Linked DNA regions of Homo sapiens: region 2 is linked to region 1. Evidence: promoter capture Hi-C in 16 types of primary human blood cells and fetal thymus (Javierre and others, 2016). All regions are on one chromosome and are shown on one strand. The core of a region is centred on a gene start or on the middle of the fragment in contact, and the rest is flanking DNA. Distances in the headings are between cores, read along the strand shown. Region 1 holds the start of FAM50B (family with sequence similarity 50 member B). Region 2 overlaps SLC22A23 (solute carrier family 22 member 23).

What was found. The method cuts DNA at HindIII sites, captures the fragments that hold promoters and counts their contacts. A CHiCAGO score of 5 or more calls a contact.
Region 2: a contact is called between a fragment that was not itself captured here and the fragment with the promoter of FAM50B in region 1, in 1 of 17 cell types (M2 macrophages). The highest score is 6.2, in M2 macrophages.

The regions. Positions count from the first base shown.
Region 1 is chr6:3,846,406-3,851,284 of GRCh38, forward strand. It overlaps FAM50B (family with sequence similarity 50 member B), which reads left to right and starts at 2,968. Exons shown (of 2, transcript NM_012135.3): 1 at 2,968-3,081; 2 at 3,384-4,879. The coding sequence starts at 3,407. The coding sequence ends at 4,384. LOC107986557 (a long non-coding RNA gene) reads right to left here and starts at 2,961. Exons shown (of 3, transcript XR_001743931.2): 1 at 2,911-2,961; 2 at 1,984-2,244. RefSeq lists a silencer at 2,642-2,761 and an enhancer at 3,032-3,151. The HindIII fragment of the contact is 3,705 bases long and covers 1,065-4,769 here.
Region 2 is chr6:3,295,125-3,300,003 of GRCh38, forward strand. SLC22A23 (solute carrier family 22 member 23) reads right to left here. Exons shown (of 10, transcript NM_015482.2): 5 at 2,967-3,094. Among named protein-coding and RNA genes, the nearest start is that of PSMG4, 39 kb to the left of the region's middle. RefSeq lists an enhancer at 1,581-2,081. The HindIII fragment of the contact is 1,465 bases long and covers 1,877-3,341 here.

The sequences.
Region 1 (4,879 bases), core at 1,718-4,217:
ATACTTAATTGCTAAATAATGCTAATGATCCTCTGAGCATTCAGTGAGCTGTGCTCTATTTGCTGGTGGAGGGTCTTGCCTCAGTGTTGATGGTTGCTGACTGATCAGGGTGGTGGTTGCCAAAGGCTGGGCCTGTGGCAGTTTCTTAAATCAATATTGAGTTTGTCACATTGATTGATTCTACCTTTCACGAAAGATTTCTTTGTAACATGTAATGCTGTTTGAATCAACTTCTTCCAAACTTCTGTTAATGTTGATATTTTACCTCCTCCCAAAAACTGTGAATGTCCTTCATGGCACCTACAGTGGTGAATGCCTTCCAGAAAAATTTCAATTTACTTTGCCCAGATCCATCAGAGAAATCATTACATACAGCAGCTATAACCTTTGGAAATGTATTTCTTAAATAATAAGACTTAAAAGTCAAAATTACTCCTTGATCTATGGGTTGCAGAATGGATGTTGTGTTAGCAAGCATGAAATCAACTTTAATCTCCTTGAGCATCTCCATCAAGCTCTTAGGTGACCAAGTGCATTGTTAATGAGTAATAATATCTTGAAAGGAATAATCAGAGCAGTAAGTCTCAACACTGGGCTTAAAAATATTCAGTAAACCATGCTGTAAACAGATGTGCTGTCCTCCAGGTTTTGTTGTTCCATTTACAGAGCACAGGCACAGTAGATTTAGCATAATTTTTAAGGGCACTAAGATTTTCAGAATGGTAAGTGAGCATTGGCTTCAACTGAAAGTCTCCAGCTACACTAGCCCCTAGCAAGAGAGTCAACCTGTCCTTTGAAGCCATGAAGCCAGGCATTGACTTCTCCTCTCTAGATATAAAAGTCCTAAATGGCATCTTCTTCCAATAGAAGGCTATTTTGTCTACATTGAAAATGTATTGTTTAGGGTAGCCTCCGTCATCAGTGCTCTTAGCTAGATCTTCTGGATAACCTGCTGCAGCTTCTCCATCACACTTGCTGCTTCACCTTGCACTTTATGTTATAGAGGTGACTTCCTTCCTCAGCCTCATGAACCAACCTCTGCTACCTTCAGACTTTTCTTCTGAAGCTTCCTCACCTCTCTCAGCTTCACAGAATTGAAGAGACTTAGGGCCTTGCCCTGGATTAGGCTTTGGTTTAAGGGAATGTCGTGGCTGGTTTGATCTTCTATCCAGACCACTAGAACTTTCTCCATATAAGCAATAAGGCTGTTTTGCTTTCTTATCATTCATATGTTTACCAGGAAAGCGCTTTCAGTTTCATTCAAGATTTTTTTCCTTTGCATTCACAACTTAGCTAACTGTTTGGCAAAAGAGGCCTAGCTTTTGGCCTATCCTGGCTTTTGACATACTTTCCTCACTGAGCTGAATCATTTCTAGCCTTTGATTTAAAGTGAGAGACGTGTGACACTTCTTTTCACTTGAACACTTAGAGGCCATTGTAGGGTTATTAATTGGCCTAATTTCAATATTGCTGTGTCTCAGGCACTAGGGAAGCCTAGGGACAGGAAGAGAGATGAAGGAACAGCCAGTCAGTGGAGCAGTCAGAACATACATAACATTTATCAGTTAAATCAATAAACGTCTTTGTCTTCTACTGCACACTTCGGAGTGCCCCCAAACAATTACAATAACCTCACAGAACGATGATCACAGATCACCATAGCAGATATCACAATGAAAAAGTCTGAAATATTGCAAGAATTACCAAAATGTGACACAGGAACACGAAGTGAGCACATGCTGCTGGAAAAATGGAGCCAGTAGGCGCTTGACGCTGTGTTGCCACAAATCTTCAATTTGTAAAAACAAAAACAAAACACACAGTATCCCAGAGCTCAATAAAATAAGATATTCTTGTATTCTGGTGATGGGGCAACAATGAGAAGGCTTTAGATTAAAAAAAATGCTAATTTCCTAGATTAAGGCAAGTGGTGGGGAATGGGAGAAAAAGGAAAGTGTGAAAGGCTCTTCTGTAATTGATTACCTGTGGAGGAACGTCATTCCAGGAAAAGGCCTAGGTTTCTGGCTTGGACAATTTGATGAGGGCTCACACCGTGCTGTTCTCCTCTGGATATGTGGGTGCCATATGTAATTATCATATGATTCACGCTTCTTGGTAAGGTTATGCTCACAGGCATTGTTGCTCTTAGGCGGGAGGAGGCTGAACCGCAGTATGTATTTCACAACCAGCTTTTCCAAACTAGGTCCCAGGAAGCACTGGTTTCGGCGAGTGTTACCAGATCTCCTGCAGGGGAGAAACGGTCACGAAACATGAACTGGTCTGCCCTGCTCTTGGAGAGTTACAGTGGAAACTGGCATGTTAGAGGCTCACAGTAAAGACACTGCTACACTTTAACTCAGTGTCCCATGGTTATTAGAGCTTAGAACCCGGGGGAAACTGCTGTATAGAAGAGGTCAAACAAGCTGAGTGCAGGTTTTGTCACGAAACTGGGGGGCGAGTAGGGTTCTATTATCAAAGAATGGTTGTGTTGGGGCCATAAGAAAGAATTACAGGCAGTGGTGCGCAGGTAATGTTCACGAGACGCCACAGCGGGGTAGCATCAGAGGCGGGAGGAGGAGGGTTGGAGAGCAGGGCCGTGTTGCAAGGCTCTCTGGGTGGCCACAGCAGCTTGCGCTGCGCCCACATTGCTTCTGCGTGTTTACAGTTGGGCACGAGAAGGCTCAGCACGCACGCACAGCAGGTGGGGGCCCGCCCTGCCCACAGCGTGAAAACAGGAGCCCCGGCCAGCCACGGCTGGGCAGGGCCAGAAGCGCCTCCTCCAGGATCCTCCCCGCGCTGGCCCGCCCCACAGGAGCACCGCCCCTACCAGGAGCCCGGAGCTCTTCCCAGGGCCCGCCTCCCCGCCAGGGGGCGATCCACCTCCACTTCCTGTTTCCGCAGCCGCCCTACCAGGAGCCTGGCACTCTCCTCAGGGCCCGCCTCCCCGCCAGGGGGCGCACCGCCTCCACTTCCTGTGTCCACGGCTGTCGCGAGAGCCCGGGGCGAGTGGGCCTCTGCTCGTGGGTGGTTCTCGTGGAGGTCAGCTCCCGCGTGTCTCCGCTCGACAGGGTGCTTGGGCAGGTAAGGGTCCGCTCAGTAGCCCAACCCTCTCTGTATGCAGCTCCCCAAATTCAGCGCTGCGCTCAGGCATGGCAGCCACCCGTTACGTGGGGCCGTTCGCATTTGCATTTATTGAGGTCAAATAAAATGCTGGAAATTGGTGCCTGGTGACACTGTCAGGTTGGTGGTTACCCTAGCAGGTCGGCCCAGCCCCTGAACGCTTCCATCACTGCCGAAAGCCCTGTGAGGAGGCGCAGAGCTGAGCATTCCCCGCCGTTGCGTGGGCCCCCCTCTACCTGCCGCGTTTTTCCTCTTTGCTGCAGAGCCCATCGGGTAGGCGCGGGCCATGGCGCAGTACAAGGGCACCATGCGCGAGGCAGGCCGTGCCATGCACCTCCTCAAGAAGCGCGAAAGGCAGCGGGAGCAGATGGAGGTGCTGAAGCAGCGCATCGCCGAGGAGACCATCCTCAAGTCGCAGGTGGACAAGAGGTTCTCGGCGCATTACGACGCCGTGGAGGCCGAGCTGAAGTCCAGCACGGTGGGCCTGGTGACCCTGAACGACATGAAGGCCCGGCAGGAGGCCCTGGTCAGGGAGCGCGAGCGGCAGCTGGCCAAGCGCCAGCACCTGGAGGAGCAGCGGCTGCAGCAGGAGCGGCAGCGGGAGCAGGAGCAGCGGCGCGAGCGCAAGCGTAAGATCTCCTGCCTGTCCTTTGCACTAGACGACCTCGATGACCAGGCCGACGCGGCCGAGGCCAGGCGCGCCGGAAACCTGGGCAAGAACCCCGACGTGGACACCAGCTTCCTGCCAGACCGCGACCGCGAGGAGGAGGAGAACCGGCTCCGAGAGGAGCTGCGCCAAGAGTGGGAGGCGCAGCGCGAGAAAGTGAAGGACGAGGAGATGGAGGTCACCTTCAGCTACTGGGACGGCTCGGGCCACCGGCGCACGGTGCGGGTGCGCAAGGGCAACACGGTGCAGCAGTTCCTGAAGAAGGCGCTGCAGGGGCTGCGCAAGGACTTCCTGGAGCTGCGCTCCGCCGGCGTGGAGCAGCTCATGTTCATCAAGGAGGACCTCATCCTGCCGCACTACCACACCTTCTACGACTTCATCATCGCCAGGGCGAGGGGCAAGAGCGGGCCGCTCTTCAGCTTCGATGTGCACGATGACGTGCGCCTGCTCAGCGACGCCACCATGGAGAAGGACGAGTCGCACGCGGGCAAGGTGGTGCTGCGCAGCTGGTACGAGAAGAACAAGCACATCTTCCCCGCCAGCCGCTGGGAGGCCTATGACCCCGAGAAGAAGTGGGACAAGTACACCATCCGCTAACACCCGCCTGCCAGAGCGGAAACCGGGGGTGGGGGGAGACACTCATTTCTAGGCCCCATCACCAGTCACTTGATTTCGTGACCTTGATTTCTTCCCCCAAATTTAATAAAGACAGAGGGTTCTCATGATTCACATTGGTTGTGCTATTGCTGATGTTATGCTTTGGTTGCTTGGTTGGTCTTTTCTGAGTATTTTAGTGTTGCCACCTGGATTTGCTGCATTGCTCTGCTGAGCTGTATTGAAACCATGACTGGGCCCACTGTCAGACAGAAATTAGAATAGGAGGCACATTTTTTACCTGGTGGTTATGAGCATGGACTTGGGGGCCACAGTGACTGAGTTTGATTCCCGACACAGCCTCCTCCTTGCTGTGTAGTTTTGGGTAAGCTTATTAAACCCCCATGCCTCAGTTTGGTCACCTGTAAAAGGAAATAACAAGAGCACTTACTTTATAAGATTGATGTGAGTATTAAGTGAATTAATATTTGTAAAACG
Region 2 (4,879 bases), core at 1,359-3,858, 550 kb before region 1:
CTCTACAGACGGGCCCTGCCTTGCCTGGCCTTGCCGCTCTGCAGGGGTGACAGGCAGTAATAAGGAACCCTGCAATTACTCGTCGTAGCTGGGATGAGGGGAAGCGGGGAGAAGTGCTGAAGTTGTAACAGTGAATAACTGGGGGCTGACTTGGTCTCTGAGGAGCTGGGCAAGGCAAGAGTGGGGAGCTGAGAGGACAGGGAGTGTGCACCGGGAGGGACCTGTGGAGAGGGAGACGGTGGTGTGTCCTGGGAGCCAAACGAAGGCCAGGGTGTGAGGTGGTGGGAGGCAGAGATCAGAGCCTCTGCAGTGGCCTGGAGGACCTGGGGTCTACCCGAAAGGCACTGGGAGGCACTGGAGAGGCTTGAAGCCGGTGGTGATGTGATCAGATCATGTGTGACCTGGTGGCAGGGAGGATGGAACAAAGCTGGGAGCCCAGCCAGCCGGCCAGGGCGCGAGAGGGTGACAGACACGAGGCTCGGAGCAGGTGTTGGCTGTGGGATTAGATGGGGTGATGGGAGGAAGATTCCATGCAGAAAACTGAGCCTGGGCAGAGGAAGCTGGAAGTGGGAGATGTAGCAACTGAAAGACACGCTGCCTTCCCCCACACTCAGCAGCCCTGCCAATCGTGCTGCCATCAACACATCTGACAGCTGGGGGTGGAAGAGAGCAGAGTCCACTGTGAAGGGCTGCGGGGCAGAGCCACCACCTGAGGACCGCTCCCCAAGGAGGTGAAGCCTCTATCCTCTTTGTTAAGTCACATGTCACCAACTGCCTCTCACCCAGCCTCCTGCCTGGGACTCTGGAAAGGAAATAAGCACCAGCAAAACTCATAAGCAAAGAAATAAATTTTTAAAAAGGATCTAATACCACTTTCCAAATATAGGAGGGAAATGAATCAGTGTAATTAGGATTTGAGAAAACAAGCTATTCCCAGACAATATTTTAACGTGAAAGAAGCAGAGTGTGATGACTTAATTAGGGAAATGCCACAAACAAATTGTACTGTAAGCCTAAGAGCATTAACCTGCTAACGAGTGAGGTCTGGGGAAATCTGGGAAAGCCATCTGGACCGTCCAAAACGAGCAAGCATGGCCCCGCTGGAGAAACCTGGATTGAGTACTCACTACTCAGCGCAGGGAAGTTTGTATCTATCCAGAGCTCTCCCTCATGTTAGAGCAGCGTGGCAAAGCCACCCCTGCTGGACTTTGCACCCCTGCTGGACAAGTCCTCGCTCAACTTCTTAGCAGCTGTGTGACCTCTGGAAGCTGCTTAGCCTCTCTGTGCTCCCGTTTCCTCATCGGCAAACGGGGCTAATTATAGTGCCTCTCTCATAGGCTGTCATGGAGAAATAATACACGTGAAGCACTTGGGGGCTAAATATTAAATATGAATTAATATTTGCAAATCACTTAGAAAAGGAGCTGAAATGTGAGTGCCATGTGAGTGTCATCGTGTTTCTCGTCACTGTCCCTGGATAAAAAGGGACCACAGATGCACCAGCACTCAGCACCCTTCATGTCAACCAGACCTGGCTCATGTCCTTCTTCTGTCCAGCGAAGCAAAAGCTTCAGGCGTCCCTGGGTAGGCCCCACCCCACCCAGCACGTGGTCCAGCCTGGGTGACCTGACTCTCACGGCCCTGCACAAGTTGAGGCAGAGGGTGACATCCTGGCTGAGCTACGGCAGCACCAAGGAGCTTCTAGTGACCTAGTGTCCCCGATCTTCTGAACTGGGAGTCTAACGAGAGGCCTGTCCAGGTACCAAGGGCTTCTCTGATTTGGGGTTCCCGTGCATCCCTTCCCATCGTAAATGGATACCTGCAGGGCACATTCTCCCACCTCACTCAGGCCCCTGCACCTGTGCCCCTGGAGCAAAGCTTCCGCAGCCACTCTGACTGTAGTCCCTCCCTGCCACCCTCTATCCCACAGCCCTGCTGTTTCATCCCTCCTGACGTATGCACGTGTAACTTCCCTGTCTGTGTGCCCCACCTGCCTGCAAGTTACGTGAGAGCAAGGCTTTGCCTGTGTCTTCTCTGCTCTAGAATAGCGCCTGAAACACAGCAGGCATCTAGTAAACACGTGTTGGTTTACTGAATGAATCATGATCACAAGCATTTCTGGTCAGGGGGGAAAATGAGCATATTCTCTCTTGGACGATGGCCTGGAGGTTATTTTCCCAGGGAATTTTATAGCAACAATTTATCCCAGGTCTTCAGTGAGGGCAGTGAGTCAGAGCTTGGGCCGAGACCACCAGTGATCTTCAAACGGAAATCTGTATACCACTTGCATCAGAATCTCTTCTAGTGCTTATTAGAAATGCAAGTTCTCAGGGCTTATCCCAAATCTAACAGGTCAGGATCTCCAGGTGCCAGGGAGAGGCCCAGGAATCTGGATTTTAACAACCTCCTGGTGATACGTGGATCCCCAGGTTGAGAACCCCCACCTAGCTGTGGTAACGCTCCTGACACGCAGGAATTCTATGGATCTGAACGACTATCCAAAAACACTTCACCTTTCCTGTCTTCAGCTGCCCAACAAATAGGTCATGGCCAGGTAAAGACAATGGTGGCTCTCTGAAGGTCATGCTCAGGAAAGCTGAGGTCACAGGGGCCATCTACACCCTGAGCCAGCGCTCTGGCAGTGTTTAGACCTGGCAGGCAGGTAGGCTATGGGCCAGACAGCCAGATATTCCCTTGAGCAGTGTATATTGGGCTCATGGCTCGCTTCTGCATTTAGACAGGAGATGAGCAGATCCAGAGTGTGCTGGACTTGATCATGAAAGAAACCAACACCTAGAAAATGGAGAGAATGTCAAGGTTGCCACATTGCCCTTGTGCAGGCCAAAAGGTCACAGGAGAATTGCACAGCTGGTTAAAACAGCTGTTTGTGCAACAAAACCAGCCCAGGTGTCAGGGACCTGCCCCGTGGAGCCTCTCTGAGCCCTGCCAGCCCGCGGTGTGCTCACCTGGTATCACACCCTTGATGTCGCCCTCAGGGTTCATGCGATTCTTCTGTGTGAAGTGGAGGATCAGCCTCTTTGCAGACTCAAACTGCTGGGTGGCCATTAGCCACCGGAGGGACTCGGGGAATATCCTTTAAAGACACAAAGGGGATCAGTGAATGTCTTCCGATTCTGCACGGCACCGGGAAGTGTGGCTTAGGTGTGGCCCGGGAGCTTCCCAGGCAGGTGGCGGTCAGTCTCCAGACACGCATCAGCCCAATCAGGGGAGATAAAACTGTGGGCACTGAAACGTTCCCAGTTTTCTTTTCCAAAGAGTAAAAATCAAGACCTTAAAAATGCTTAACAAAAGTTAACCACATGTTCTCACCCACGTATGGAAGCTTAAAAAAAAAGTGATCTCATAGAAGTAAAAAGAAGAACAGAGGATACTAGAGGCTGGGAAGGGTGGGGGGAAACTGGGGATAGGGAGAGGTTGGTTGAAGGATACAAAATTATAGCTAGGTAGGAGGAACAAGTTCTAATGTTCTACGCCACTGTAGGATGACCATAGCTACTAATAATATACAGTTTCACATAGCTAGGAGGAGGATGTTAAATGTTCCCGGCCGGGCGCGGTGGCTCACGCCTGTAATCCCAGCACTTTGGGAGGCCGAGGCGGGTGGATCATGAGGTCAGGAGATCGAGACCATCCTGGCTAACAAGGTGAAACCCCGTCTCTACTAAAAATACAAAAAATTAGCCGGGCGCAGTGGCGGGCGCCTGTAGTCCCAGCTACTCGGGAGGCTGAGGCAGGAGAATGGTGTGAACCCGGGAAGCGGAGCTTGCAGTGAGCCGAGATTGCGCCACTGCAGTCCGCAGTCCGGCCTGGGCGACAGAGCGAGACTCCGTCTCAAAAAAAAAAAAAAAAAATGTTCCCAACACACAAAAAAGTGATATTTGCGATGATGGGCATGCTAATTACCCTGATCTGATCATTTTACATTCTATGTACTGCACCATCACTGTGTACCCCATAAATATGTACGATTACTATGTGTCAATTACAAAAATAAAAAAATAATTTAACAAATGTAACAGAGTAGCGGATATGAACAACATTCTACCAGCTGTGTCAAGAAATCAGTGTATACCTTTCAAAGTAACCATAGATTTCTAAAGCATGGAGAAACAATTCACGGAAGCCTGCTGATTTTGTTGTATTTTGTCACAATAAATAGTAATAGAATGATTTTACGTTTAAAAAATTACTTCCAAATATGACCAACCTGCAGTTATTTTCAGTTTCGGAACCTGAAGGCTCACTGTCCCGGGGTTTCCTTCAGAGCTATTTCCACGTTACTGCTAACCGCCTGTCACTGTCCCTCAGACGATGCCACAACGCAGTGGTTTTCGAGTTTTACCAAAGCGACAGAATCTTTTTCTTTTTTTAAAAGATGGAATCTTGTGAGGAGCCCCAATACAAAAAAACTAGTGTTTTATTATCAATTAATTTTATAAATTTACATTTATGACAATATTTACAAGCTGCTCAAAGAGAACACCGTGACTGCGCAGAGCAGGAGTTGGCACGCTATCTCTGCAAAAGTCCAAGTCATCAATATTTTAGACTTTGAGGGTGAAATGGTCTCTCCTCATCTTGGCCTTGTGGCCTGAGTGTGGATGTATGGGAGTGGGTGTGGCTATGGGCTAATAATACTTTATTGCAAAACAGGCAGCTGACCCTTGACTGTTTGGGAGAGACAAAAAGTAGAAATCAAAGCTCAAGATGACAGTCCTAGCTTCTTGTAGCCCTCAGTGTTCTAGTTATCACTCCACTTTATTTTAGTTAAATTGTATCAGGAAAGTCACGACTGATGCTGGTAAGAAGTTATTGTAAGTACCGAACACCTGCTTTGCAAGCTCAGGATAGACTTTTT